2 separate regions of the Homo sapiens genome follow, and region 1 is linked to region 2. Evidence: promoter capture Hi-C in human tissues and cell types (Jung and others, 2019). All regions are on one chromosome and are shown on one strand. Each heading gives the region's core, a stretch centred on a gene start or on the middle of the fragment in contact. The rest is flanking DNA. Distances are from core to core; before and after follow the strand shown.

The links. Contacts are between HindIII fragments. The study calls those that stand out against the background at their distance.
Region 1: a contact is called between a fragment that was not itself captured here and the fragment with the promoter of MARVELD3 in region 2, in 1 of the 25 tissues and cell types used here (mesendoderm cells).

Annotation. Positions count from the first base shown.
Region 1 is chr16:71,782,536-71,786,803 of GRCh38, reverse strand. The region is part of intron 2 of AP1G1 (adaptor related protein complex 1 subunit gamma 1); the gene reads left to right. Among named protein-coding and RNA genes, the nearest start is that of AP1G1, 24 kb to the left of the region's middle. The HindIII fragment of the contact is 4,378 bases long and covers 371-4,268 here.
Region 2 is chr16:71,624,284-71,628,492 of GRCh38, reverse strand. It overlaps MARVELD3 (MARVEL domain containing 3), which reads right to left and starts at 2,309. Exons shown (of 3, transcript NM_052858.6): 1 at 1,797-2,309. The coding sequence starts at 2,263. RefSeq lists a silencer at 1,439-1,488. The HindIII fragment of the contact is 11,141 bases long and covers 1-4,209 here.

The sequences.
Region 1 (4,268 bases), core at 1,310-3,809, 160 kb before region 2:
GGCGTGCACTATTGTGCCCGGTCAGCTAATTAAAAAAAAAATTTGGGCTGGGTGCGGTGGCTCACGCCTGTACACCCAGAACTTTGGGAGGCCGAGGTGGGTGGATCATGAGGTCAAGAGATAGAGGCTATCCTGGCCAACATGGTGGAACCCCCTCTCTACTAAAAATACAAAAATTAGCTGGGCATGGTGGTGCGTGCCTGTAGTCCCAGCTACTCAGGAGGCTGAAGCAGGAGAATCGTTTGAATCCGGGAGGTACAGGTTGCAGTGAGCTGAGATCGTGCCACTGTACTCCAGCCTGGCAACAGAATGAGACTCTTTCTCAAAAAAAAAAAATTTTTGTTGAGTTGGATTTCTGCCACAGTTCCCTGGTTGGTGTTGAACTCCTGGGCTCAAGTGATCTTTGGGCCTCAACCTCCCAAAGTGCTGTGATTATAGGTGTAAGCCACAGTCCCTGGACTAAGGGCAAATTCTTGAATTTGGAATCAGAGTAGATTTAAGACTTTGGGGGATATTTCATTTTGTAAAAAATCTCTCTATATTTTCTAAGATTCATTTCTTTAATATGTTTAAATAGAATGTGCTTTTAAGGTTAGGTGGCATTTGGGGGTATTTTGGGACTTAATTATTTGATAAAATATTTAATTCTTAGAAAGTAAATGCTCGAGAAAACTGTGCTAAAATTTTATCATAAAATATTTTTCTGAATGGGACTGGGAATCATAATTTTAAGTTCTTATTCTGTTTCCTCTGTTTCAATGAGTCACCATCTTGTTCATATCAGTAATTTGGTACCCCATCCGTTGGAATTACCTTTATAATATGCCTTTAAAAGGTTCATATCTAGATTTTGTCACCTGCACGTATGATCACAGTGCCATTTTCATTTAGTGTATAATAATAGCCACTTTTTTTTTTCTTTGAGATGGAGTCTCGCCCTGTTGCCCAGGCTGGAGTGCAATGGTGTGATCTCAGCTCACTGCAAACTCTGCCTCCTGGGTTCACGCCATTCTCCTTCCTCAGCCTCCCTAGTAGCTGGGACTACAGGCGCCTGCCACCATGCCTGGCTAATTTTTTTGTGTTTTTAGTAGAGACGGGATTTCACTGTGTTAGCCAGGGTGGTCTCGATCTGACCTCGTGATCTGCCCGCCTCGGCCTCCCAAAGTGCTGGGATTACAGGCGTGAGCCACCATTCCCAGCCCACTTTTTTTTTTTTTTTTTTTTTTTTGAGGCAGGGTTTCGCTCTTGTCACTCAGGCTGGAGTACAATGGCACAATCTTGGCTCATTGCAGCCTTCACTACCCAGGTTCAAGCGATTCTCCTGCCTCAGCCTCCTGAGTAGCTGGGCTACAGGCACCTGCCACCACACCCGGCTAATTTTTGTATTTTTGGTAGAGACAGGGTTTCACCATGTTGTCCAGACTAGTCTTGAACTCCTGACCTCAAATGATCCACCGTCTTGGCCTCCCAAAGTGCTGGAATTACAGGTGTGAGCCACCACACCCAGCCTAGTTATTGGAAGACTTTTAAATATGTTTTAAACAACTTGGGTATGTGAGTCTACTTTATAAATAGTAAATTTTATGAAATCTAAATACAGTTCAGCTATTTCTTTTTTTTTCTTTTTAGTTTAGCTATTTCTGATGAAAATGTACAAATTGAGATGTGCTGTAAGTGTAAAGTACATACTGTATATAGAAGCTTTAGTGCAAAAGCAAGTGTAAAATACCTAATTATAATTTTTGTGTTGATCATACGTTGAAATGATATTTTAGATATATTGATTAAAGAATATTATTAAAACTAATTTCACCTTTTTAAAACTTTTTACTACAGTATCTAGTATGGTGCTGATAGAAATAAAACACAAGCTACATAGAAATTTAAAAATTTCTAGTAGCTATATTTTAAAAGTCTTAAGTTTTGCAATAAAACTTAAGGGGTAGGATGGACACGGTGACTTACGCCTGTAATCCTGGCACTTTGGGAGGCCAAGGTAGGGGGATCACCTGAAGTCAGGAGTTTGAGACCATCCTGGCCAACATGGTGAAACTCTGTCTCTACTAAAAATACAAAAATTAGCCAGGCGTGATGGTGGGTGCCTGTAATCCCAGCTACTTGGGAGGCTGAGGCAGGAGAATCACTTGAACCTGGAAGGTGGAGGTTGCAGTGAGCCGAGATCATACCATTGCACTCCAGCCTGGGCGACAAAGCGAGACTCTGTCTCAAACAACAACAACAAAAAAATATCTTAGCCCTGCCTTGCTGTACAAAGGATTTGAGATGGCATAAACTACCAGCATCTACATTAAAGAGAAAAATAATAGTAGAAATTAAGAGTTGGAAAAAGGAAGCATTTAGAGCATAAGGCCAGTGTAGTTGCTGTTGGTGCGACAGCTAAGGCAAGAAAAGAGACAGTCACCTCTCAGGTAGTTGTTATTGCCAAGATGGAAGAGCAAAACTGCAGAGAACCAGATTGCCTGGATGTGACTTCTGGCTTTGAGCAAGATCTTTAACCTTTCTGTGTCTCAGTTTCCTCATCTGTAAAATGGGGACAATCTTAATGCCTACTTTATAGTGTTATTATGAAGATTAAGTTATAAGTGTTAGACACATTTTGTATATAAAAAGCCTCATGTTATGCATTTTACCATTTCCTAAAGGACGGCAATGTTTTTTGAAGCACTGAATTCTAAGAGATTTTTTATATGGACCTTTTGTCTAGGAGTCTCTTAATAATGTAAGAGACAGTATCCTCAGCATTTTTATAACAAAAGTGGTGATAGATTTCCTGTAGTGTGTGTAACCTTTTGCGTGTGTAGGTTAAGCACAACCCAGAAATATTAATGAATTATCTAAAGATAAGTAGGTAGATTGCAGGAGTAGAAAACTGGTGGCTCGGGGCCAAATTCTTCCACAGATGTGTTCTTTTTTGTCCTGTGTGGTATTTAAAATTGTTTCTGCCAGTACATAAAAAAGAAAAAAGAATTTCCATAGAAATCTGGACTTCTAGTTTCTCTTAGAAACATAGTAAGATTTGTGGAATGGAAATCTACATTTCCATATGTCAGTAGTGTGCTGCTTTTAGGCTGGGCCTGATTCTGTTTTTCCTCAGTTCTAGCCTTGCTTGCCATACCCAATTACCTGTGTAGGATATTCTTCCCTTCCATCTGTGTAGCATAGGACTGCACTTCTTTAGCTTCTCTAAATTTTACAATGTTTTCTGTACAGTCTTATACATCTTTTTAAAAAATTAAAAAAAAATTTCCTTTAAAACACAGGATTTTTAAGTCTTAACACATCTTTGGAGAAATATATTTGTAGGTTCTTTAGAGCTCTTGTTTCTGTTGCAAATAGTATCCTTTAAAATTTTAAATAATTATGTTGTAGATCTGTAGTGATATAATTGATTTTTAATAATATTTATCTACTTTGCCACATTATTGAACTTGGTTCTAAGAGTCTCTGTGGACGTCATTGTTTCCATGTAGTCAATACTACTATTGTCTGCAAACAATGGCAGTTCTTTTTTTTCCTTTGATATCCTTATACATTTTCTTATTTTCTTATTACACTGTACAGGTAGTACATTATTGCAAATAAGTGATGATAATAGCCACTCTTGTTAAAGCCGTAAACAAATGCTCTACAGTAATATGTGGGTGACTGTCATAGGGTTTAGTAGACACGCTTTCTCACATTAAGGAATTTTTTTCTTAAAATAAAGTACTTAAGCTAGTACTATTCCTTGAAAAGCCTTAGAATTAATGACCAGACCAGAAGCAATGAGCTATCCTTAAGCCTAGACTGTGGTCTCCAGATACTATTTTCAGCCCATTGGAAAGATGGCTGATCCCAAATCCAGGGTAAGGAAATGTACAAAATAAGCTTGAATGATGTTACTATGCCAGAAAGCAAGAAAGACTGCAAAGATCATGTCAGAAGGTTTCAGTAATCACCAGAAGAGGCAGTCATACCCCCAAAAGAGATAATTTGAGTATTAATAAGAATAATAATCGGCTGGGCATGGTGGCTCACACCTGTAATCCCAGCACTTTGGGAGGCCGAGGCAGGCAGATCACGAGGTCAGGAGTTCAATACCATCCTGGCCAACATGATGAAACCCTGTCTCTACTAAAAATACAAAAATTAACCAGGTGTGGTGTCAGGCGCCTATTAATCCCAGCTACTCAGGAGACTGAGGCAGGAGAATCGCTTGAACCCGGGAGGTGGAGGTTGCAGTGAGCCAAGACTGCGCCACTGCACTC
Region 2 (4,209 bases), core at 1,060-3,559:
AGATCTCAGCTCACTGCAACCTCCGCCTCCCAGGTTCAAGCAGTCCTCCCACCTCAGCCTCCCGAGTAGCTGAGATTACAGGCGTGCGCCACCGCGCTCTGCTAATTTTTTTGTATGTTTAGTAGAGATGGGGTTTCGCAGTGTTGGCCAGGCTGGTCTCGAACTCCTTACCTCCAATGATCTGCCCGCTTCGGCCTCCCAAAGTTCTGGGATTACAGGTGTGAGCCACCGCGTCCGGCTCGGACAGTGGTTTTTAAAGAAACCTAAAAATGCAGCTCTGAATTCTCCCAGGTCCTGCAGTTGCAAGTGCAATGGGCTTTAGTCAGGGAAACAACAGCTGTTTCCCTGGGCGAAGCTTTGACTGTATCTGGGCGCACCCTTTGTTATGCTAGTTAGTTTTAGATAATGTAACATAAACTCAGGATAGGAGCTCTCCCGCTGTGTGGACATAGCAGGGAGACAGACTGGACTCAGCCTCCAAGTCCCTGGGAGAGGGGAGCCTGACTCCTCCCTAGAGGAGAGGCCAGGTGTCAAAAACCAGAAGCAGTCGTCACCTCGGACCTGTCTCCTGTTGGAGCTGGCAGGGGAGATATCCCATCTGCTCACAGTTCACCGTGTGGGGCACATTATCTGGGTATTCAATGGATGGAAAAAACACCAGGTCCCTAGGAGGCGGTGTGGGGACCAGGTCCCCTCTTGTCTTCCCTTCCCCCCCCACCCTCCCCTAGCTCACAGAGTCTTCCAGTACACCCTGAACCTTTCTCCTTACAAGGGGCCTATGGGAATTCTGTGCAAGGCAGAGATGGCAAAGTTTTTTCATTAGGAGGGTGCGGTCTCAAGCAGCCGTGGGATTCGAATGACGCTGCCTAGAGAGACCTCACTGGCAAAAGGGAAAACAAACCTGTACCCTTCAGTGGGAGAATTTTACGTAGACTTTGTTCTTTGGTTAAAAATGTAGCGTCTCCCATCTGACTTTTTTTTTTTTTTTTGAGACGGAGTCTCGCTTTGTCGCCCAGGCTGGAGTGCAGTGGTGCGATCTCGGCTCACTGCAACCTCCGCCTCCCGGGTTCAAGCGATTCTCCCTCCTCAGCCTCCCAAGTAGCTGGGATTACAGGCATCTGCCATCACGCCTGGCTAAGTTTTTGTATTTTTAGTAAAGACGGGGTTTCACCATGTTGGCCAGGCTGGTCTCGAACTCCTGGCCTCAGGTGATCCGCCCGCCTCGGCCTCCCAAAGTGTTGGGATTACAGGCATGAGCCACCGCGCCGGCCCACCTGTTTCTGAAGGCACCTATTCCTGGGAGGGGTAACACATTAAACTATTAACTCTTCATCGGGCTTCCCAAGTGGGCGGCCCGGCCACAAGGAAGGGGACTTTGGAGTCGGGAAGGGCTGGCTCTGGAACACGGGACAAGGGTCTGAACCCCAAGGCGCAGTCCTGTGACCATGCGGGCCGGGCCGGGGAGGAGCCTGGGGTGAACCCCACCCGCCTGGTCTCCTCCCACCCCTCCCTCTCGGGTCCCGGGGCCTCTCTTTCTCTTCTCCAGGTCCTCCAGCCCAGCCACTGCTCACAGGGGTGGTTTTTGCTTTGTTAGTTGGGTTCAGGCCACGAGAAGGGGGAACCCTAAAGTTTTCCTTCCCTGCCAGGTCGCCTCTGAGAGCGCAGAAGGGAGAAACGGCATTTGTTCATTTAAACGGGCTCCTAGGACGAGAACCCGGGGACGCCAGGGCCTCGCGGGCCGGCCTGGGCCACAGGTGTCCCCGGCGCGGAGGTCGCAGCGCCCCGGCCCCTCTCACCTTTCGGGTCTGCGGCGCCCGGGGTCTCCCTTCCTCTGCGGCTGCGGCGGCTCCGGGGCTTCCCAGGGCGCGGGCCCAGGAGGCGCGGCTGCGTCCCAGGTCAGTCCCCGGGCTCCGTCCCGCGTCCGGCTTTGGCGCGGTTTTTCCCAAACTCCGTGTTCACCTGCGCGAGGGCCCGCGTCCCTGTGTGTGTCCCGGCGGGGGCCTCGGTCCGGGTCTCTTTCCCTCTCTCTCTCCCTCTCCCGGTCCCGGTTCCGGTCGCGGTTCCCGTCCCTCTCCTGGTCTCTCTCCGGGTCCCGGTCCCCGTCCCTTCGCCGGTTCCCGTCGCTGCTTCGCTTCCTGCGCGGGTCCCCGGGTCGGTCCCGCGGTCGATCGTGGGTGCGGCCTTGGTCTGGGTGGGGGCGCCGTCCCGGGTCCCGCTCTCTCGGCCGGGCCCGGGGCTCGCGAGCCCCCGACGGATCTTCCATGGCCGGGTTCCGTGTCCCCGCCCGGGAGCGACCTGAGGGCAACAACCAACAAGTTTCTTGGGCAGGTGGCCAAGCCCGGGGGCGGGGCGGGCACTCACCTGTGCGCATGCGCGCTAGTCCGGGAGCTCACCTGAGAACGGGCGCCCTCAGGGGGCGGCCTGAGCGCGTCTGGGGCCCGGGCGGGAGGGGTGCCTGTGTGCTGGGTGGGGGCTGGGGTGCTGCTGCTGGAAACCCGGGCGGGGCGACCCACAGCCGCACCTTTCTGCCCCGAAGTAACCCCTTGGTGACCCCACGAGGTGGGCGGCCTAAGGGAGCCAACTGTGGCCACCTCCCCTGGCTCAACTTACACTGCAACTTGGATTTACCTTCCCAGAGGTACCCATCCTCTCACTCACTCAGCCAGACACTCATTCATTCACCCAATCACCCACTACCCGCTCATCCATTCACCCACCCATCCACCCACTCACCCACCCATCCACCCACTCACCCACCCATCCACCATCCATCCACCCATCCACCCACTCACCCACCCGTCCAACCATCCACCCATTCAACCACTCACCCATCCATACACCCGTCTATCCACCTATCCACCTACTCACCTACCCATCTAACCATCCACCCATCCATCCATCTATCCACCCACTCACCCACCCATCCACCACCCATCTACCCGCCCACTCACCTGCCCATCCGCCCACCCACCCACCCTCCATCCATCCATCCACCCATCCACCCACTCACCCACCCATCCACCCACCCATCTACCATCCGCCCACTCACCCACTCACCTGCCCATCCATCCACCCACTCACCTAACCATCCACTCTCACCCACCCATCCACCATCCATCCACCCACCCATTCACTCATCCACCCATCCACCCACCCACTCACCCACCCATCTACCAACTCACCCATCCATCCACCCATTCATCCACCCACTCACCCATCCAGCCACCCACCCACGCATCCACCCATCCACCATTCATCCACTCACCCATTCATCCATCCATCTGGCCACTAACCTACCCACACATCCACCCAGTCACCCACCTTCCACTTCTCCCTCCACCCATCCACTGTCCCTCTTTCTCCCTTCTCCTGTTTTCCTTATAACACCTATGTTGTAAGGGGCTTGCAGCCAGTTCATCTATCACAATAGTCCTGGGCTTACAAATAGCCCTGTTTTTTAAAATGGGGACTTACACAAAATTGGCAGCTTTTAATTCTGCCAAGTAAGGATATTACAAAATATATACAATTGCCATCTGGTAATTAATTCTTTCAGCAAATATGTATGAGCACCTGCTTTAGCAGGTACTGGAGATATAGTGGAAAATTTGCTTGCAGGGTGATTGCATTCTAGTGTGTCAGGAAAAGGGAAAACAGGTAGTAAACAAAGAAGACAGTGTCTAAAGTTTAATGGGAAGGGCAGGTTTCCTCATATAGACCTGGGAAGATGTCGTTTGAATTGAGTTCTGGATGACAAGAAGGCTGAGAAAATGTCCCAGAAAGAGAGAAGGTTGAGGAACGCGGGAGCTGGACAAGGAGGTCCCTGGGAGTAGAGTTGGTGGGCATGAATTGAGGCTGGAGAAGTGGACCAGGCAGATGGTGTAGACGACAGTGTGCATTTTTATTCTAAACAATGGGAGAACATTGAAGATTTTGAGGAGGAGAGTAAACCTTTCTGATTGATATTTTTGAAAGACCACTCTGGCTTCTGTGAGGAGGGTGGATGATGGAGGCCCAGAGTAGAGGGAAGAGATGAGTTACAAAGCTGCTGCTGAAGGAGTCCAGGTGAGGGTGACGGTGGCCATGGAGACAGTGACAAGTTGACAGATCCAGGTTGTAGTTTTGGGGAAGAATTTACAGTATGGATCAGATGTGGGGAAATGAGGGGAGGGGAGGAGTGACCAGGTGAATGGTGGGGTTTTTCACTGA